6 separate regions of the Homo sapiens genome follow, and regions 1, 2, 4, 5 and 6 are each linked to region 3. Evidence: promoter capture Hi-C in human tissues and cell types (Jung and others, 2019). All regions are on one chromosome and are shown on one strand. Each heading gives the region's core, a stretch centred on a gene start or on the middle of the fragment in contact. The rest is flanking DNA. Distances are from core to core; before and after follow the strand shown.

Evidence for each region. Contacts are between HindIII fragments. The study calls those that stand out against the background at their distance.
Region 1: a contact is called between a fragment that was not itself captured here and the fragment with the promoter of KDM2A in region 3, in 1 of the 25 tissues and cell types used here (dorsolateral prefrontal cortex).
Region 2: a contact is called between the fragment with the promoter of AIP here and the fragment with the promoter of KDM2A in region 3, in 5 of the 25 tissues and cell types used here (dorsolateral prefrontal cortex, heart left ventricle, hippocampus and 2 more).
Region 4: a contact is called between the fragment with the promoter of LRFN4 here and the fragment with the promoter of KDM2A in region 3, in 1 of the 25 tissues and cell types used here (dorsolateral prefrontal cortex).
Region 5: a fragment that was not itself captured here is called in contact with the fragment with the promoter of KDM2A in region 3 in 2 of the 25 tissues and cell types used here (dorsolateral prefrontal cortex and hippocampus).
Region 6: the fragment with the promoter of RAD9A here is called in contact with the fragment with the promoter of KDM2A in region 3 in 1 of the 25 tissues and cell types used here (dorsolateral prefrontal cortex).

The regions. Positions count from the first base shown.
Region 1 is chr11:66,637,594-66,641,114 of GRCh38, reverse strand. All of the region lies in intron 1 of RBM14-RBM4 (RBM14-RBM4 readthrough), which reads right to left. RBM4 (RNA binding motif protein 4) reads right to left here and starts at 2,412. Exons shown (of 4, transcript NM_002896.4): 1 at 2,363-2,412; 2 at 992-1,415. The coding sequence starts at 1,403. RefSeq lists enhancers at 1,536-2,247, 2,114-2,483, 2,248-2,961. The HindIII fragment of the contact is 5,623 bases long and covers 1-3,521 here.
Region 2 is chr11:67,481,630-67,485,016 of GRCh38, reverse strand. It overlaps AIP (AHR interacting HSP90 co-chaperone), which reads right to left and starts at 1,991. Exons shown (of 6, transcript NM_003977.4): 1 at 1,760-1,991. The coding sequence starts at 1,858. RefSeq lists an enhancer at 2,090-2,149. The HindIII fragment of the contact is 17,225 bases long and covers 1-2,489 here.
Region 3 is chr11:67,117,878-67,120,962 of GRCh38, reverse strand. KDM2A (lysine demethylase 2A) reads right to left here and starts at 1,700. Exons shown (of 21, transcript NM_012308.3): 1 at 914-1,700. LOC107984341 (a long non-coding RNA gene) reads left to right here and starts at 2,615. Exons shown (of 2, transcript NR_160735.1): 1 at 2,615-3,085. RefSeq lists silencers at 559-648, 1,174-1,313, 1,494-1,563, 1,704-2,143, 2,324-2,603 and 1 more and an enhancer at 2,214-2,263. The HindIII fragment of the contact is 11,710 bases long and covers 1-3,085 here.
Region 4 is chr11:66,855,814-66,859,275 of GRCh38, reverse strand. It overlaps LRFN4 (leucine rich repeat and fibronectin type III domain containing 4), which reads right to left and starts at 2,212. Exons shown (of 2, transcript NM_024036.5): 1 at 183-2,212. The coding sequence starts at 1,531. All of the region lies in intron 12 of PC (pyruvate carboxylase), which reads left to right. RefSeq lists silencers at 2,327-2,436, 2,597-3,126. The HindIII fragment of the contact is 20,544 bases long and covers 1-3,462 here.
Region 5 is chr11:66,671,371-66,674,569 of GRCh38, reverse strand. All of the region lies in intron 2 of RBM4B (RNA binding motif protein 4B), which reads left to right. Among named protein-coding and RNA genes, the nearest start is that of RBM4B, 4.9 kb to the left of the region's middle. The HindIII fragment of the contact is 6,507 bases long and covers 1-3,199 here.
Region 6 is chr11:67,389,881-67,393,266 of GRCh38, reverse strand. It overlaps RAD9A (RAD9 checkpoint clamp component A), which reads right to left and starts at 1,281. Exons shown (of 11, transcript NM_004584.3): 1 at 1,189-1,281; 2 at 1,036-1,106; 3 at 485-613. The coding sequence starts at 1,222. It overlaps LOC100130987 (a long non-coding RNA gene), which reads right to left. Exons shown (of 4, transcript NR_024469.1): 4 at 1,580-1,869. RefSeq lists enhancers at 660-1,164, 1,199-2,114 and a silencer at 1,065-1,434. The HindIII fragment of the contact is 15,866 bases long and covers 1-3,386 here.

The DNA of each region.
Region 1 (3,521 bases), core at 712-3,211, 480 kb after region 3:
TTTTTGACACTGGGAACCCAAAGGAGGTGAAAGAAGAGTTCAGATAGCAACTCACCATGATCACCACCCCTGAACTGCCACTGTTGCTTCAGACCTCAGATTTTGGAATATTTGCGTTCTACGTACCATTTTAGCATCCCAAATCTGAAAATTCAAAATCCAAAATGCTCTAACAAGCATTTCCTTTGAGCAACATGTAGGCATTCAAAATGCTGGGGATTTGAGATGCTTCCAAATGAAGTGACAATCCACATATCACCCATGCTGCCCTCCAGGCACAAAAGATTCATTTGGTTAAGACTCCAAGATAACACAAATCTAAGTGCTCTATTCACCAAAATCTTATAAAGTCCAGCCCCCCAAACCAATGAAAAGACAGTCATTACCGCCCCTAAAACCCCAGTGCCTCCTCCCCAGGAAGTCCTAAAATCAGCCTTGTAATTCTAGAGTGGCCTTAAACTCAAAATACAATCCCTTGGTACAGGTATAATATAAAAGCAACAAGAGCTGTAACCCTTTAAAGAGTTTGTGTAAGGTAGGACAGCTTAACAAGGATTCTGGTCCTATAAGTGTCGCTTGACATGTTTTTGAGAGGTTCTTCACGTAAAATGCAGAATTCTGATCCTGTGCTGAGGGCAATAAATTCAGAGTGAGGAACTCTGAACTGTGCTCTACTACAAAAAAATAAAAAATAAAAAAGGCCCAGTAACTCAGAAAGCCTTCAAAGAAAAGGGTTTCTGCACTGATAAGCACAAAAGCCGTAGGGGCTCCAAATAAAAGGTGAGTGGCTTTTCTCCAGGAGACATTTGCCTAAGGTAAAGCCCCTAAGTCCCATGCATTCTACATCATAAGAAGTCCATCACCCACACTTATTTCTTCATCACCAGCCAGCCAACAGCTGTTATCTTTACCAAACCTCTCCTTTTACTTATCCAACCATTTTCTGCACACAGCCTTGTGTTCAGCCCTCTACCCAAAGAGGGTGGTTCACCTTGAAACTCTGTGTTATCAAGGCCCCTGATGGCCTCCACTGCATCCTCTGCCCGCTCCATGTGTACGAAGGCATAATCTTTCACGATGTCACATTCGATGACCGGACCATACTCCTCAAACTTGGCTCGAAGCTCCTTATTGGTGCAGGTGGGACTGATGTTGCCCACATGCAACTTTGTTGAGGTTTTGCTCTTATTCTTGCTGGCTTCCACGTTGATGTTCACCCCATGAAGCTTGTAATGGTGCAGGTTGCGTATGGCATCCTCAGCTGCCGTCTTGTCTTCTATGTGCACAAAGCCGTAATTCTTAATGATGTCACATTCCAGCACCTTCCCATACTGCTCGAAGAGTGAGCGAATCTCCTGCTCTGTAGCCTCCCGGGGCAGGTTTCCGATGAACAGCTTCACCATCCTGACAAGAGCCTGGGAGAGAAAAACAAGACATCTGACAAAAGACCTCAGGCCCACATCCGTTCACAAAAGACAACGACTTTCACTCTAATGTATATTTCCAGTTTTCTCTCTCACACGCCTGCACACACACCTCCACACAATAATCAAATGGAAGTGGGAGTGAACTAAGGCCTGCTATAGTAGCCGCCATGAACCTGTAAGAATAAGAAGACGTCTGCAATAGGGAGGTCCTTAGTAGACAAAGGGTTTGGTAAGAACCGATACCTTCCAACAGAAATGGGCATGAAAGACAGCATATGAAGAAATGGGGGTACTAGGCTTTTCTATCCACTAGGAGGACAACAGAAAACAAAAGTCTACTAGGCTTGCTGACTGCCTGCCTGAAATTATCAACAGGCTTTTCCTCACGTAGGAACCAAAGCAGCCATCATTTCCGGGAAAATGGGCCTTGTAATAGCTACATTTGAGTTTCCTTTGGAAGTAATGAACGCGCGACTCGGATCAGACAGCGAGGAGTGGGAGATAAAGGAAATACTGGAGTGGTGAACGCCTCTCTCGGGGCACCGTCCTAGCTCCTGCCGAACACTGAAATGCGCGGCCGCGGAAAAGAGCTTCAGATTCATTAACCAGACGATGTCTCACGGCCCGAGAAATTCCCGAAACGAGAATGTAACTGTCAGATATAAGGGAAAGGGGGTTATCCCAGTGGAAATCTCGAGGCTCCAAGAGCAGCCATGTCGGGCGCGGGACAGGGTGGGCGAAAAAAAGCAAGGTATTCTCAGGGGGCGGTGGGGGAAGGGCTGCTCCCGGCTTACCGCGCAATGCCGAGGACCGAGGTCGGCTCTCAGTGACGGGTGTGGAGACTGCGGACCTACCAGGACACCCCCGAAGCCCAAGGGAGTGAGAGAAGATTTAACACAGTACAAGAAAGGCAGTGGAAAGGCTCGGAGTCTCACCCGCACAGAAACCAGCAGGGCCTCCTCCTCGCGGCGCGGACGCTTCTGACAAAACGCTAAAATGGCGGCGGCCGCAGCAGTGCTCTGAGTAGAAGGGGGAGGTGAGCCTACAACCGGATTGGCCACTCAAGAAAGTAAAAGGCCGGCGTTCCCTCAGATCCTCTTCCTGATTGGTTACCACGGACGCCAATTACCTAAGAGGCCGGCAAGAGGTGGAAACGTCTGTAACCTCGGAGCTTTTATGCGAAAGCCAATGGGCACCAACCTCGCGAAGCCGAACTCGCTGATTGGGCAAGAGATCAGCGTGAGGGCGGACCTACAAACGTGGGCTTCGCCGGCGGGGTGCGGCCCGCCATTAGGCGGAGCGAGCTAGAGCCCCGGGGTAGCAGTCTTTAGCTTCATGGCGCCAACTTCGTTAAGCTTCCACATTTCGCCACCTCCACGTGCACAGCCAGACAGTATTCCGCGCTCCATTTTGCCGTTCACTCTAGGTGTCTCCCTCTAACCTCCCAAGCACCACCCCCCCTCGCGGCCAGGACGCTGTGGAAATAGCTTATGCAGGCACATGCCAGGGAAGAAAAACAACGAAGACCCCCCCCAACCCACCACCCACCACTTCAGGAAACCAACCTTCTCCTTGGGCCAGCAGTCCACACTGTAGCCTTGAGAGTCCCGGAGCTCCCCCAAAATCAAACCTCTCACAGGTGGTGAAAGGACCTCTGTAATGGCCTTCCAGAAGTAGGCCCGGCAGGAGGCTGCACTGTCCAGGAGACGCTGAGGACAAGTTCCCTCTGGGAACCAGCCTCCCAGGGTCCGCGATGAAGAAACCTTTCTGAGACCATGGAGATTTAAAGTATACCCCGACCCCACCCTGAGAAAAAACTGGAGCAGCAAAGGTTTTTTTGTTTTATTTTATTGGGCGCCATCAGCCAGAGCTGTTTTAATCCCCTAGAACCGACTTTAGAGGACAGAGCTTAGTCACAACCAGCTGTAAACAAAATACAAAGTAACATTCTCCAGAGGGTCCAGCTGCTGCCTCGTTTTCTCTCATCCTTAGGCTGCTTCATATTCATTAAGCAAGCAACTTTAGTCAAGACCCTTTGCGAAGCAGCTTTTGAAAAGGGTTAAAAGGTGGAGTGCAGGGACTGGATGGAAGAAC
Region 2 (3,387 bases), core at 742-3,241, 360 kb before region 3:
GAGGCCTCTGTTTTTCACTCTGTGATGGAAGCCACTGAGTGGCTCCGAGCAAAAAAGGAATTGAATCTGGCATGGGCTCGGCTGCTGGGACGAGAACAGACCACAGAGGGACAAAAGAGGCAGGAGAGTTAGAGGTCGCTGCAGTAACCCAGGCTGGAGATGAGGATGGCCTGGACCCAAGCAGTGATGGCAGAAGTGGTGAGAACTCAGATCCTGGCTGGATATTGAGGATGTGATGTTGGATGTGAGACTGGGAGGACCACAGAGATGCTAAGGTTTTTGCCCTGAACAACGGGAAGGTTGTTGGTTCCCCTGACACGGAGAAGCCTCAGGTGGAGCAGGTTAAGTGTGAGTTGCCAACCAGGCTTCCAGGTGGATATGGTGAGTAGGGAGCTATATATCAGGTTTAAGAGACAGTTAATGACTGGAGAGCTGCATCTGGGAGTAATCCGGGCAGGGAGAGTTTTTAGAGATAACACTGGGGGTGGGTGCAGAGAAAAGAGGTTTGGAGATTGAACTCTCGACAGGATATGGTTAGAGGAGCCCACGCTCTTAACTGCCGCACCATGCTGCATCTCTGAAGTCAGTTTCCACATCGGTAAAACGGAATCAACAACAGTACCTATCTCACATTGTAGGAAATAAACGTGTGAAGCATGTAGCACAATGTTCGAATAGTGAGCACTCAATCAGTGCTGGCGATTGGTTATTTAACACCACCTGTTTCTGATCTTGGGGTGCCATTGTTCACATCTCTCCTTCTGATGTCTGTTCCATCCAGGATCCCCCTTGCCAGCCCCTTCTTCCAACGCCACCAACCCCCCAGCACATGGGGGCATGAACCCACACCACACATCCTGTCTCTTCTTAGAGAAGATATCTTTTCATACAGCGGATCACTCCAGCCATGCAGCTCCCCTCTGCTCTCAGGGCACTTATACTGCACTGGGCTAGGATGCTTAGCTGCCCGATTCGGCACGGTGCTGGCCAGGGGGCATGTGCTCATTTGCTCAATGTGCATGTCCTGCCTGACTGCTCTGCTGGGCACAGGGGCTGCCCCTGGGAGGTTCCCTACTCTGCAAACAAGTGGCAGCTGGGAAAAGCACTCCGGGAGGAGGCAACTACAGGAGAAGCAGGGAAGCCTGGAGTTGTAGGTTGGGGGAGAAGCGGGCAGAGGGGCTGGATCTGGGGGCCTGGCAAAAAGGAGAAAAGTGGGAGGTTCTTTACTTCCCAACCCTCATCTGTCCCAACAAGCCCCTAGTGCAGCAGGAAGGCTGCTAAAGAGTCCCTGTCTGGGAGACCTGACCTCTGGGCCCGTTCTCCGGCTTTGCACGTCCCAGGGTCTTGGTTTTCCACTCTAAACAGCGGCAGTTGGTCTAAGTGTTTTCAGAAGGCCCTTCCATCTACAAAGGATCATGAGCCTTGAAACCCAGATACCCGAGGACCACTCCCGGCCCTGGGTTTCCTCCAGCGTGGGGTCTGCCCAAGCACTGAGATCAACCCCCAACCCCAACCCGCTTGTGATGACTGACGGCCTCCCCCACCAATGCTGCTACAAGGCCGAGCCAGGGGGCGGGGCAGACAGGCCCGAATTCACCCCCTACTTAAATTCAGCCCAATCAGCGTCGAGTTCTGCATGTGAGCGGTAGGGGCAGTGGACGCTGCCCTCTGGGCATGCGCAACCTCTCGCCTAAGGCCTCCTCCCGCCTCGCATGCGCACCACGCCGCAGAGGGGGAGAAGGGTAGGGTAGACACGAACCTTGGTCCCATCTTGAAAGTCCGGGAGCTCTCCTCGGCCTTCCTGTATCACACGTTTTTGGATCCCGTCCTCCCGGAGTCTTGCGATGATATCCGCCATCCTCCTTCCCCGCTGCTCCCTTTCGGCAACTTCCGGACTCGCTCGGTAGCTTCCGGACTTGCTTCGGCAACTCCTAGCACCTCGGCAGCTTCCGAGCTAGCGCCATTTTGGTTGAGGGCAGAAGCCAAAAGGGACTGAGCGTGGAAACGGATGGTGATTGGTTCTCTGCGCTGGGGCTGAGCGCGCGCGTCTGCTCGGGGGCGGAGCCTAGGAATGTCTCGGGGCTGGACCCCAGCCTGTCAAGGAGGAAGGGCCGGGGTCCGCGGGCCGGGCGGGACGAGGACGTCCCTAACAATTGTCATTGAATTGATTGGGACTGCGGCCGTGTGGCACTTTGTTTGAAGTTGTGGATGGAATATAACAGCACTGCAGAGTTAGGAAAATGAAAAAAAAAAAAAACACCCGTAAGCCACACCCTCAAAGTGTTATGATTTTTGTGTATTTTCTTCCGGCTTTTTCTCTTTCGCATATCTAGTATGATTGTCGGGACTCTTGCATCCTGGATCTTCCTCTTTCAAAAAATAAAAAGAGGAAGAGGGAAAGAAAGGTGGAGAAGGAGACCAAGAGAGCCCATTGCGGGGTCGGAAATGAGTCATAGTTGTGCCCAATTAATATTAGGGAATAATCGATGAATGATAGAAATGAGGTACTTTAGCGCCGGGCGCGGTGGCCCTGTAACCCCACCACTTTGGGAGGCCGAGGCGAGAGGATCGCTTGAGCCCAGGAGTTCGAGGCTGCAGTGGGCCGTGTTCGTGCCACTGCACTCCAGGCTAGCCGACAGAGCGAGATGCTGTCTCAAAACAAAACAAAAAAAAAAAATTAAATTAAAAGAAAAGAGAAATGAGGTACTTTGGGGCTAAAACAACTTTTGTTTTTCTTTTTTTGAGACGGAGTCTCGCTCTGTCACCCACGCTGGAGTGCAGTGGCACAATTTCAGCTCACTGCAAGCTCTGCCTCCCGGGTTCACGCCATTCTCCTGCCTCAGCCTCCCGAGCAGCTGGGACTACAGGCGCCCGCCACCATGCCCGGCTAATTTTTTGTATTTTTAGTAGAGACAGGGTTTCACCGTGTTAGCCAGGATGGTCTCAATCTCCGGACCTCGTGATCCGCCCACCTCGGCCTCCCAAAGTGCTGGGATTACAGGCGTGAGCCACAGCGCCCAGCTGATATGAAACATTCTAAATAAAATACTAGGCTAATTGAATTCACTAATGTCATGTAAAAATGCATCAGTATGGGGCAGGTGTGGTGGCTTATGCCTCTAATACCAGCACTTTGGGAGGCCAAGGCAAGTGGATCTCCTGGATCTCCTTGAGCTCACAAGTTCAAGACCAGCCTGGACAACATGGCAAAATACCATCTTCACCAAAAATACAAAAAATTAGGTGGTGTGGTGGTGCACGCCTGTGGTCCCAGCTACTCAGCAGGCTGAGGCTGGAGGATTGCTTGAGCCCAGGAGATGGAGGTTGTAGTGAGCCAAGATCGCACCACTGCACTCCAGCCTGGGTGATAGAGTGAGACCCCATCTC
Region 3 (3,085 bases), core at 451-2,950:
CAACTAGCAAGGATCTCCTTCATGGCAGCATCAGCAAGAAAAAAAAAAAGCCCAGGACTTTTATCTCCAGAGAGCTGACCAGGTGAAGCACCACTGAACTAATCCAGATCCTAACCAAATTAGTTCTCTCTCACCGGTAATCAGAAACTAAAGGAAAGAAGGGCAAACTGACTATGTAAAAAGAGGACAAAAAATTAGGATTTAAATGACCCCAAAACAATTTCCCATACCCCTCCTGTAAGGCCGTGCACAATCGTCGCCTTCCTTTCTAGACTCCCCGGATCTTATCATTCCCAAATCTACCCTCCACCCCAACACAAGATGTGCACAACTCTGAAACAAATTTCAGAGGTGCAAATCAAGGACCAAAATTCCATCTGATCTTTTTGGATAAAGTAATAAAATAAACGATTGCATCTAAGGATACAAGGAAAATACATCTTGTCCAAAAATTAAATAAAAGACCGGCCGGCGCGACGGTCAATCCGTAATACCAAGAAAGGGTTTTCTTTTTTCTAAATATTCTCGTGGATAATGGCTTCCATTGAGAACACAGGTTCCCCCCGTTTTTGTCACTACATTACAGCCACGTTAACAGCATCCTTTCAAAACTGCTACGAGACCAGAGGACCCGATGACACAGTTTGCAGAGCAGTTAGAGGCAGAGCCCTCCCGGAGGAAGCCCTGGCCCGAAGTCGGGAGGGAAACCGTGCTTGCACCCCCTGGGCGACGACCGCCTGGGCATGGAGCAGCCAGGGCCGGAGAGGAAAAAGGGCGAATCTCGCTGGGCTCCCCCAGGAAAAGGCGTTTCAATGGTTCACCCATCGGAAAAAGAGATAGAAACTTTGCATTCAGTCTTTGGATAACACAGTCAACCAAACTTCCAAATGAGGGGGGGGAGGGGGAAACTCACCGGAGATTCTGCTCTTGAGTTCTTGTCCAAGTGAGAAGTAAAAGATTCCAAAGCTGAGAGGAATAATTAAATCCCAAACGTCGTCTTCGGTTTTTCCGTGGATCAACCCAGTATCCAGAGAGGGTCAGAGCGACCAGGAAAAGGGAGCAAACAGTTGCTGAATCAAACCTTCTCTTCTGGCTTTGGAGACCGGGAGTCGGAGGCGTCAGGAGAGAGGAGCGCGACCCCTCGGCGCCGAGCCCGGGGCGCCCCCGCCTCCCCCAGGCCAGCGGTCAGCAGCCCGGGCCCGAGCCCCGGGCCGGCCCCGGCCGCAGGGAGCGCCCTCCTCGCCGTGCCCTCGGCCAGCAGGGGCTGGTCGCCTGCGGGAGCAGCGGCCGATCAGCTGAGACCGGCCGGCCCGAGGCTCCCCGCGCCGCCCCGGCCCCCCGGAACGCGGGCCCCGGCCCCGGGGGGCGGACAGGGCGGGAGCGGCGCGGCGCGCCGGGATGGGGGCCCTGGCTCCCCTCGCGTCTCCCCCTCAGGTCTGGCTCCGCGCTGCGGGACGAGCCCCCCGGCTACTCCCCAGTCGCAGAAGAGGGATTCCGGGGGATGGGCCCCCTGGCGTTGCCCCTCCTCCCGGAGCGTCCCCTGCCCAGGAAAGACAGAGCGGCCACGGGCCCAGCCGCTGGGAAGGTGCTCCGAGAGCCGCCGCCGCCGCCGCCGCTGCCGGGGAGGGGTGTTGTTTCCCTCACACAGGAGGAGCCGCTGAAGCAGCCGCCGCCATTTTGAACCCGTCAGACTCTCACATACACACAGCTCCTCCGAGGCGCACTGCGCAGGCGCCACCTCCCCACCCCTCCTCCAGCTCGCCTCTCCACCCCCCCACCCCCTTCAGGCCTCCCTGCGCTTCTTACCGCTCTCCCGGGCGCGCGTGAACGCGCACGCGTCACTCCCCTCTAACGCGGACACACCGCCGGCGCGCGCACGCGCGGATGCGTCGGCCTCGAATCGCCCGCGCCCCGCGACGCCGACGCGGCTCCCTGCGCCCCCTCGCGTCAGGCCGCCCGCCCTCCCTCCCTCCCGCCAGCCCGCCGCCCCCGCTCCCCGTCGGCGTTCTTCCAGGGCTCGGGCCTGGCTGGCTGCTCGCGCCTGCGCGCAGGGCACCGATCCTCCTCCGCGCGCCCTCCCCCCACACACCCTCACACACACTTCGCCTCTGCGACCCCGCCCCTCGCGGCCAGCTGTGCTGGCCGCCCTCCCCCACCCCCCTGGGAGGGTGGTGACCCCCGACCCCCCACAAAGCACATCACCCCCCCCAAGCAGTGGGAGATCTGCGTCCCCTTCCCCTTCAACCGCCTTTGGCCCCAGGCTGCCCGTCACAGTCACACAACCTGAGGGCCGGGAGGCCTGGGCCAGGGCAACCGATACCCGCCTCAAAGCAGGGTCTCCCGGGGTCAAGCCGCCGGGCTGGGCCCGCGGGACCTGGGCTCCCGGCTCAGGCCTGCCCAGGGCGAGAGGGCGCAGGGAAGGGGCGCATGGCCGCCGGCTGCCCTCCCTTCGCGTGCCGGCCGGTGGGCCGAGGCCGGCTTGCCCGCCATTCCCGGGCAGGCCCCGGCGCCGCCGCCACGGGGCCCGTCTGCCCTGGGCCCGGGGGCTCCTCGGTGCAGCGGCCTGGCCCCGCCTCACCCACTGCTCGTCGCTCCGAAGGGGCAGGAAACAGGAGTAGCATGTCTGTCCTGGGCTCGGCTCCCCGGGGGTGCTGCAGGCGCTTAACAAGGGCGTCCACAGGTACCAGGCGCAGAAGCGGTCTCCGCGACGGCCCGGGGGCGGTGGCGGCCGGCGCGCCCACCGCCGGCCGGAGGCGCCCGGCGAGGTGGCCCAGGAAGCCCCCGCTCCTCGGCCACGCTCAGCTTTCCGCCGCGCCGGTGCCCCCGGCGGCCCGGGTGGGACGTGACCCCGCCCCCGGCGAGTCGGGGCGCCCCCCACGGAGGGGTGCGCGGGCCGCCCCCGGCCCCCGGCCCGACCCTGCCGCCCTGGGCCGTGGCGGGCGCGGGAGGCCCGGCCGGGAAGATGTCTCCTGTTGGTGCGCGCAGCTTCGCGCGGGGGTCAGCGACGGGGCAGCAGCCGCCCGAGCTGCGCCGGCCCTGCCCACGGACCGACTCCCGCGGCCCGACAGCTGCCCGACGGGCCAGC
Region 4 (3,462 bases), core at 963-3,462, 260 kb after region 3:
CTCCAGCCCCCTCAGGCAGCCAGGCCAGGCCAGGCCACTGCTCCTCCAAGAGTCCAGCAGCCATGGTCGGGGAGGGGGTGTCAGCCCCAGAGAGAGGAGGGGTGGAAGCAAAGCCTTGTGGGGAGCAGAGGGCGGAGGAAGGGCGCCGGGAGTGCAGCCGGGTGTGGGGCACGCATCCTCACCGGTAGATGAGGGTCTCATCTTCGCTGCTGTTGTACTGGATTTGGAACATCCACACTGGGTCGGCTGGCCGCCCGGGACCCCAGCTCACCAGCCCTGAGGTGGCGGTCACCTCCGTCACCTGCACGGCTGGCTCAGACTCCAGCGTCCCCTCACCCTCGGCAGCAGTGCGAGCGGAGGCGGCGATGTCCGAGGGCCCGGGGCGGCCCCCCTCGGCACTGCTGTTCCCACCATGGGGCAAGGCCAGCACCCGCAGTTCTACTCGGGCTGTGGCCTCACCAGCAGGGTTGGTGGCGATGCAGGTGTAGCCCCCAGCGTCCCCAGCGCCGGTCACCCCAATCTCTAAGGTCCCGTTGGGGAAAGCCCGGGCTCGGGAGGAGTTGCCAACCAACCGGTCGTCAGGACCGACCCAGTGCATGGTAGGCGCGGGGTCACCCAGGGCCCGGCACCGCAGCGTGGCCCGCTGGCCTTCCAGCACCCAGAGGCGCTGCGTGTGGCGGGCAATGAGGGGCGGCTCACAGGAGAACTCGCCCTCGGGCACTGCCCAGAAGTAGCGGCCGGCCAGGCCGGGCGGGGAGGCGCACGTTTCCAGGTCGTCCGGCCGCGCCAGCCGCCGCAGCCACAGCAGCTCACAGTTGCAGTGCAGGGGGTTCCCGCTAAAGCTCAGCACCAGGGGGGCGGGAGAGGCCTCTGCATCACGCCCACGAGAGAAAAGCGGGTCCGGAGCCAGCGTGGCCAGGCGGTTGGAGGTGAGGTCCAGGCGGGAGAGCTGACCGAGCTGGGCGAAGGCGCCTGGGGGCAGTGCGTCAATAAGGTTATGGTCCAGGTTGAGGGTGTGCAGGGCAGGCATGGCGCCGATGCCGGCCCAGGGCACCTGCCGGAGGTTGTTGTAGGACAGGTCCAGGTCCTCCAGGCTCTCTAGGAAGTCGTCGAAGGCTCCCGGCGCGATGCGGCCCAGCTGGTTGCCGCTGAGGATGAGGTGCTGCAGATTGACGGGGCCCCGGAGGCTCCCGGTGCCCAGCTCCACCAGCCTGTTGCCGTCAAGGTGGAGGGAACGCAGGCTCTCGAGGTCCCCAAAGGCGCGGGCCCCAATGCGGGTGATGGCATTGCGAGACAGTGTCAGGTCCACCAGTCCCGTCATGTTGCGGAAGTCAGGGGGCCCCAGGGCCTGGATGAAGTTGTCAGCCAGCCGCAGCTCCACTGTGCGCCGGTCCACGTTGGGCGGCACAAACAGCAGGCCTCGGTGGGCACAGAGGGTGCTGAGCGACTCGGACAGGTTCTGGCAGACGCAGGGCAGCGGGCAGGCGGCCGCTCCACTGGCCAGCAGCAGCAGCAGGAGCGGCGGGGCCATGGTGAGCGCCCTGTAGGAAGGGGCCACAGCCCAGGCACAGGTGGGGCTGGCGCAGGTGCCCACTTGGGCCCAGGACAGTCCCAGAAGCCAGCTTCTGTGAGCCTGGCCCGGGGAGGGGCTGGGTCAGAGGCCCAAGAGGGCCGCCAGAGATGAGGGAAGGTTGGGGCCTGCAGGGCCAGGCCCCCCAGAGCAAAGGTCACATTTCCCAAGCAGTTAAGGGGGAGTCCAGGCGCTGGGGACAAGGTGAGGCATGAGGCAGGAAGCGGAGGAGGACCGAGAGCAGGGAGGGTCCCGGAACTTCCTTTCCCAGGCGTCCCCAGGAATCGCCAGCCGCCTCCCCACTCCCCGCCATACCCTCCCCCGCCAGAGAAGGCGCCCCCCGAACCTCCCGTGGAGTCCGTGGCCCCTCCCTGGCCGGCCCCCGCGCTGCGCCCGGCGGCCCCCTCACCTGGTGTCCGTCGCTCAGGGGGCGCGGGCCGGCCTCCCTGCGAGCCCGGCCGGCCCCCGCCGACTCCTGGCCGCTCTCCCGCGGGGACGAGGCCCGGGGATGACCGGCCGCCCGCCGCCCACCCTCGGGCCCATGGCGCTCGGGCCCGCGGCCCCGGCTCGCTCGGTTCCCGGCACCTTTTCCCGGCGCGGTTAGCGGTGGCGGCGGCGACAGGCGAGCGGGTGCGCGCCGGCGGGCGCGCGCGCCGCGGACACGCACGTGGAGGGCGGACGGGGAGGGGCGCGCGGGGATCCACCCGGGCCCGGGCCGGCTCCTGAGGTCACGGGGACACGCGGCCGCTGCAGCGCCCACGGGTGGCGCCCAGTCACGCCCGAGGCCCGGGCCGGCGCGGGCCCTCCGCGCTGTCCCCCGGCGCTGCCGCAGCGCACTCACCCTGGCACAGGCGCGCGCGCCCCCGGCCATCCTGGCGCCCCGGCATCCTGCACCGCACGGGCGCCCGCCGCCGCGGCGCGAACCTCACTCTGCAGACAGCCAGACAAAGCGCCTGCTCGCGGGCCCCTTCACCATCTCCCGGAGACGGGCGTCTTTGTCACATGTCGCTGGGCACCCTCCCCAACACACCCACACATGCCCACACACCCACACGTCCCTGCACCCACGGGCAGGGCCGAGCGCAAACCCGCACTGTTGCTGGGACCCTTGCGTTCACAGACACACGCTGAAGGTCATAACCGTTCTGCATCACCGAGTCACGTGGAGGGTCCCCAACCGGCACGGGGTTCGGCCGTGGGGGGGGCTGGGGCGGCGCCCCTGGCAGGGCTGCTGCGGGGTGGGGCCGAGAGGGCTTGGCCTCCGGGCAGGCGCCCCGCCCCCGCCGCCCCGCCCTGTCCCCAGCTGCCTCTCGCCTCTCCCTCCCTCCCCAGCTGCCCCGCCCGCCCCGCGGGCCAGGCGTTCCGGAGCCAACCGGCCTCCGCCTCGGGCCGGATTGGTCTGCGCGGCGCGGCTTCCCAACCGCCGGGGGCACGCATTGGGAAGCTGTGCGTCCTCGCAGCGCCTGCGGCCCCTCCCTCCCGCTCTGTCGCCGCCGGGCCATTTCCCTGGAAGAGCGGCTCGGAACCAGCTCCTCTCAGAGAAAGGGCTCCCGGCGTGAGGTGGGGGAGGTTCTTTGCTTCCTGGTTGAGAAAGCTGGGGCTTCGGTGGCTCGGCGAGCCTGGTTTCCTTCCAGCTGTGCCCGCCACCACCAGTGGTCTGCCCAGTTGGGAAACAGGAAGTCACCACCTCCCCGTGTCTCCTGGTCCTTAAGCCACCTAAACCTCAGCCATCCTCGTTCTCCCTCCAGCCCTGATCCCCATGGGCCAGGTGGCAGGAAACTCGGGGAAACCCAAGATTGGAATTCTGATCCTGTCAGCACAGCAGTGTAGTCCTGGGCACGTTACCTGACCACTGAAAACAAGTTCCTCCTGTAGGCCAGGAGAGTTGGATG
Region 5 (3,199 bases), core at 580-3,079, 450 kb after region 3:
ACCATATATATATTTAATACAACTGAATAAAAGGAAAAGGACAGGCCGGGTGCTGTGGCTCACGCCTGTAATCCCAGCACTTTGGGAGGCCAAGGCGGGGGGATCACGAGGTCAGAGATTGAGTCCATCCTGCTCAACATGGTGAAACCCCGTCTCTACTAAAAATACAAAAAAAAAATTAGCCGGCCATGGTGGCAGGCGCCTTGTAGTCCCCACTACTCGGGAAGCTGAGGCAGGAGAATAGCGTGAACCCAGGAGGCAGAGCTTGCAGTGAGCCGAGATCATGCCACTGTACTCCAGCCTGGGGGACAGAGCAAGACTCCATCTCAAAAAAAAAAAAGAAAGAAAAGAAAAAGAAAAGCTACCTGAAGTTAATAAAAAAAAAAAAAAAAGAAAAAAAAATCAGTTAATTGGGGGGAGTTGGCTTAGGATGAATATGTGTTTTAATAAGGCAGGTATAATTACTTTAGGATGTATCTGAATAATGCAGTGGATCCATAAGATTTTTAAAAACATCACTTCCTTAGAAAGTGCAAACACTAAAATGAATTGGAAAAGAAAAATCCTGTATTTGGTTTTCATGTTCTTAACTTGGCTCCTCTGGAGATAGCACTCTCCTCCTAGTTATAGAGACGTTTTTATAACTAGCTCTGGTTTTTTTTCTCCCAGATGACAAGAGCAAGCTTAGCACTGGATAGTAAGTTGTAGTTTTACAGAAAATACAGTCTGGATACCAGTTTGACACGTTTCAATTTAAGTTATTTTCAGTTGTCTACTAATGAAGGTGGCCTCTTAAAAGGGCCACTTGAGCCCGGGTGAGGTGGCTCACTCCTGTAATCCCAGCACTCTGGAAGGCCGAGGCGGGGGTGGATCACCTAAGGTCAGGAGTTCAAGACTAGCCTGGTCAACATGGTGAAACCCTGTCTCTACTAAAAATACAAAAATTAGCTAGGTATGGTGGCACACACCTGTAATCCCGGCTACTCAGGAGGCTGAGGCAGGAGAATCACTTGAACCCAGAGGCGGAGGTTGCAGTGAGTCAAGACCGTGCCACCGCACTCTAGCCTGGGCAGCAGAGCAAGACTTAGTCTCAAAAATGAACCAACAAAAAAGTGCCACTTGAACATCTTTTGAACCTTTATTTCTATATGTTAATGGCTGCCATTGAGGCTTTTTGCATTGTATGACTTCTAAAAGGAAGTAGCGGAATCTGAGTTTACTTTACTCTTTCAGGATCTGTTTCCTTTTTACAGCCAGCAGTGAACTCAACTTATTTCCTTAGACACATAGTTTGTATTGGAAGACCTAAAGAAGCTATTCCCAAATAACAATCAGGCAGCTTAATTGGGAAGAATGTGTGAGAGTTCAGGTGTCTTTTTTTTTTTTCCCTATATGTAAACAAGCATTAAGTCAGAATACTACTCTGTATTAGCTACATCCCCAGTCTTTTCTGGATCATGGCACTTGATAGGCGCTCAGAAATTAAGACCCCAAGTTTCCCACTTCTCAGCATTTTAATGCTCTTTTCTGTTACAGCTTTCAAAATAAAACACTTATAGGGCTGGTTTTCTGGAAAATGTTGGCAACAAACTTCAGTAACTTTTGGAAGTCCCAGGAAATTTTAAGCTTTTGGCCTACTTTGTCCAAGTGTAGTAGAGTAGAAGAATTAATCTTTCATTTTTCTTTGCCCTGGTTCCTTAAGGTATAATAATAGAGAGGCATAGTCTTTTTCAATTACTATAAAAACTTTAGGGTATTTAAATTTAAAGGCTAGGCTGGATGTGGTGGCTCATGCCTGTAATCCCAGCCCTTTGGGAGGCCGAGACAGGCGGATCACCTGAGGTCAGGAGTTCGAGACCAGCCTGGCCAACATGGTGAAACCTCGTCTCCACTAAAAATAGAAGAAATTAGCCAGGTGTGGTAGCGTGCGCCTGCAGTCCCAGCTACTCGGGAGGCTGAGGCAGGAGAATTGCTTGAGCCCAGGAGGCAGAAGTTGCAGTGAGCCGAGACTGCGCCACTGCACTCCAGCCTGGGCGACAGAGCAAGAATCTGTCCCCCCCCCCCAAAAAAATTAATAAAAATAAATTAAAAGGCTAATTATAACCGTTGGAAGGACTGGTTGTTTTGGTTTTTTTGTGGGTTTTTTTTTTTTTTTTTTTTTTTAGACAGTCTTGCTCTATTGCCTAGGCTGTAGTGCAGTGGCACAATCTCAGCTCACTGCAGCCTCCGCCTCCCGGGTTCAAGTGATTCTTGTGCCTCAGCTTCCCAAGTAGCTGGGACTGCAGGCATGTGCCACCATGCCCAGCTAATGTTTTGTATTTTTTTAGTAGAGAGGGGGTTTCACCATGTTGGCCAGGCTGGTCTCGAACTTCTGGCCTCAGGTGATTGGCTCACCTCAGCCTCCCAAAGTGCTGGGATTACAGATATGAGCTACCACACCCAGCTTGGAGAAACTGTTTGAAAAAATTTTTTTAAACTCGTCACCCCTATTATAGATTTTTTTAGTTCTAGGTTAAAAAATTGGGCCGGGTGCAGTGGTCACGCCTGTAATCCCAGCACTTTGAGGGGGCTGAGGCGGGTGGATCACGAAGTCAGGAGTTCAAGACTAGCCTGGCCAAGATGGTGAAACCCCATCTCTGCTAAAAATACAAAAATTGCTTTAAAACCACACCAATGGTGGCAGGTGCCTGTAATCTCAGCTACTCGGGAGGCTGAGGCAGGGAATTGCTTGAACCCGCGAGGTGGAGGTTGCAGTGAGCCGAGATTTCGCCACTGCACTCCAGCCTGGGCGACAGAGCAAAACTACGTCTCAAAAATCAAACAAACGCAACAAAAAAATTGATACCTGCATCCTTTTCACAACTACACAGAGGTAGATTTTACCACAGATAAACTTGATTTCCCACCCTCTAAATAAAAGCAGGAATGAAGATTGGATTTAGTTAAAAAACATCAAGGTAAAATTGCTGGGTTTTGTTTCTCCAAAAAATGGACCCAGAATCTATAAAAGTAAAGTGCAAATTTAATTGAATTTTTTTGTTAAAAATGTTACTTTTAGGTCTCTGGATTGGCTCCTTTTTAGACTGTCATGGTCACTCTGACTTCACAATTGGAGTATACTTTGTGTCTGTCACATAGCTTAATGTCACCATGTATATTTGAAAGCCAAGTCATTTATAATCTTTTAGTCTAAATTATA
Region 6 (3,386 bases), core at 32-2,531, 270 kb before region 3:
GCTCTGTCACCCAGGCTGGAGTGCAGTGGTGCGATCTCAGCTCACTGCAACCTCCACCTCCCGGATTCAAGCAATTCTCCTGCCTCAGCCTCCCGAGTAGCTGGGATTACAGGCGCGTGCCACCACGCCCAGCTAATTTTTGTATTTTTAGTAGAGACGGGGTTTCGCCATGTTGGCCAGGCTGGTCTCGAACTCCTGACCTCGTGATCCGCCTGCCTCGGCCTCCCAAAGTGCTGGGATTACAGGCGTGAGCCACCGCGCCCGGCCAAAAGACGTGCTTACCTTTCTTGACGAACTTGAGCGTCACCACCCTCTCAGGTCCCCGCTGTGATGCTTTTACCATGGCCCTCCCTGTGTTTTGCATGGATTGGGCTTGCACGTGTCTCTCTCCCCACTTAGCATCTACTGAGTACCCCAGGGCAGAGGCACAGCTGGTGGAGATTCCTGGGGTGGAGTAGTGCCACTGCTGAGGGAAGGGCCTCACCTTCATCAGGATCTTACAGCGCAGCAGGTCCTGACCAGGGGTGGCTGCCTGGTATTGCTGGAAGAAGAGCGGGGCAAAGAGAAAGCAGGCATAGGCAGAGCGGGAGGAGTTCACCGTCCGGAGGGAGAGCTGGGCCACGAAGAGCAGGGAGAGGGACGTGGTCAGGGGGCAGCCACAGACCCAGCCCTCTGGCTGCTTCTGCTCACACACTTGCCCTATCGTCCTCCCGCTCCGCCACCACCTGCTGAAAAACCCTCCTTTCCCCATGGAAGCCTTCAGAGTCGGCCCCGGCGCTGCTGCCGCAGAGGAGGGGTCGCACACCCAGGCCTTCCCCGAGTTTCTCTAAGTGCACGTCACCCCCTGGGAGCTCGCAGGACAGCTTTCCTCAATTCACACACCGGCCTGGGAAGATGACAGCCGCCAGACTAAGAAACTGAAACTTTGCCGACAAATCTGCCAGCGGTCATCCCGCCTAGTGGGGGCGAGACTCTAGTCCGGGTTACCCGCTCCCGGCTGGAGTCCCACCCGCCCCCCACACCCTAGCCCCTCACCCCGTCCTCCAAGGGTTCCAGGTAGAGCTCGTCCCCGATGCGGGACAGGGAGTGGACGGCCTTGCCGAGCACTGCGGGGAGAAGAGCGGAAGGGGGTTAGGCTGGCGGCTCCGCGGCTGCTGCACCGCCGCTGCCAGGCCGACCTGCACTCACCCTTCACGTTGCCGCCCGTGACCAGGCACTTCATGCTGCCCCAGCGCTCCGCCAGCGGCCAACACTGCCCAGCTCTCCGCGACCTCCGGGTCCGGGGTCCCTTCCCGCGCACCGCCCCTGCCGGCCCCGCCCCCGCCTCCCCATTGGTCCACGTGCAGGCGCCTCCGTCACGTGAGAAAAACGCTCACAGGCTCTGCCGTCACGTGACGGCGCACGTTGTCCGGGGTGTCACGTGACCGGGGAGGCCCGCGGCGCCCGCCAGCCAGCTGCTCCTGGCTCCCCCGGCACGCCTCGGCCTTCCGTGCCCCTGGAGATCGGGGCGTTCCGCGGGCCGCGCACCGGATTGCGAAGGTCAGAGAGGACGCAGCTGTGGGGCGCGAGGTCCCTGTGCAGTGGACCGAGTGCTGGACTCGGAGTCGGAGTGTGGGGGCGAGCTCTCTGGGGTCACCCACTTAGTAGAGTTCCCGGGCGTCTGCCGGGGGATACAGGGTGCAAGCAAGACCATCGCACCCACTCTGGGCCTGAGACTCGGACTCCAGCAGCAATCCCCAACTCTAGAAAGAAGTCAAAGCAGCTTGCTTGCAGCAGCCGGGAGTGGGAGGTGGCTGCTCCTTCCGGCTTCGAGGATCCTTTAAGGAAAAACGGCAGTTTCTCCAGGCAGAAAGGGGTAGAACGGTGCCCCTGGCAGAGGGAAGAACAAGAGTAAATGCTCAGCGGTGTGGGCTCCGCCCCCTGGAGAGGGGAGTAGGTCTGTGAGTCTCAGAGAGGCGTAGGGGCCGCCAGATGATGAGGGGCACCGCTGGGACGCTCTGGAAACGTTTTACGAGGGTAGATCGTGGTTATGTGCCTTTTTTTGTTTGTTTGTTTTTTGAGACATATTCTTGCTCTGTCACCCAGGCTGGAGTGCAGTGGCGCGAACACGGCTCACTGCCGCCTGGAACTCCTGGGCTCAAGGGATCCTCCCATCTCAGTCTCCTGAGTATCTGGGACCACAGGCACACCCACCACGCCCGGCCCTTTTTTTTTTTTTTTTTTTTTGGGTAGAGACGGAGTCTTGCCATGTTGCCCAGGCCGGTCTCAACTGTGGGGTTCAAGCTGTCTTTCCGCCTTGGCCTCTCAAAGTGGAGTGAGCTACTGCACCGGCCTGTTTTTTGTTTTTTGTGTGTGTGTGTGGGGTTTTTTTGTTTGTTTGTTTTGAGATAGAGCCTCGCTCTGTCGCCCAGGCTGGAGTACAGTGGCACGATCACGCCTCCCAGGTTCAAGCGATTCTCCTGCTTCAGCCTCCCAAGTAGCTGGGATTACAGGCGCCTGCCACAACGCCTGGCTAATTTTTGTACTTTTAGTAGAGACGGGTTTCACCATGTTGGCCAGGCTGGTCTCGAACTCCTGACCTCAAGTGATCCGCCCGCCTCGGTCTCCCAAAGTGCTGGGATTACAGGCATGGGCCACCGCGCCCAGCCCCGGGTCTGTATTTTTAAAAGACCCCAGACTGGCCGGGTACGGTGGCTTACGCCTGTAATCCTACCACTTTGGGAGGCCGAGGCGGGCGGATCACGAGGTCAAGAGATCCAGACCATTCTGGCCAACATGGTGAAACCCCGTCTCTACTAAAAGTACAAAAAGTAGCCGGGCATGTTGTCACGCGCCTGTAGTCCCAGCTACTCTGGAGGCTGAGGCAGGAGAATTGCTTGAACCCGGAGGCGGAGGTTGCAGTGAGCCGAGATCGCGCCACTGCACTCTAGCCTGGCAACAGAGTGAGACTCCATCTCAAAAAAAAAAACCAGACTGTGTGCCAGGTGGGGATGCATCAGCTGGAAGGTATTCCCCTTCCCCTGGGCTTCCGGGTCCACGTGTGTAAAATGTAAGGGAGTCCTGGAGAAACTCACTGACCCCTACTCTCCCCACAGTACCAAGGCTCTGGTAGTTCTTGGAAGGGCCCAGGGCATCCCTGTATTCCTGCAGGGCCTGCCCGTGCCTTGCCCCTCAGGTCCTGTGGTAGTGCAGAAGATATATTTATCTCTGCCACCCTTGCTCTCCAGACCCACTTTCAAATGAGTTGAATTGATACATAATAATTGTACACATTTGGATACATGCATACACTTTGTTTCTCCCTCTCCTTCCCTTCTGCTCCCCTCGTCACCAGCCCTTGCCCCTTCCGTGGAGCCTTGGGGGAGGAGGTTACTCTTCCCTTCCCC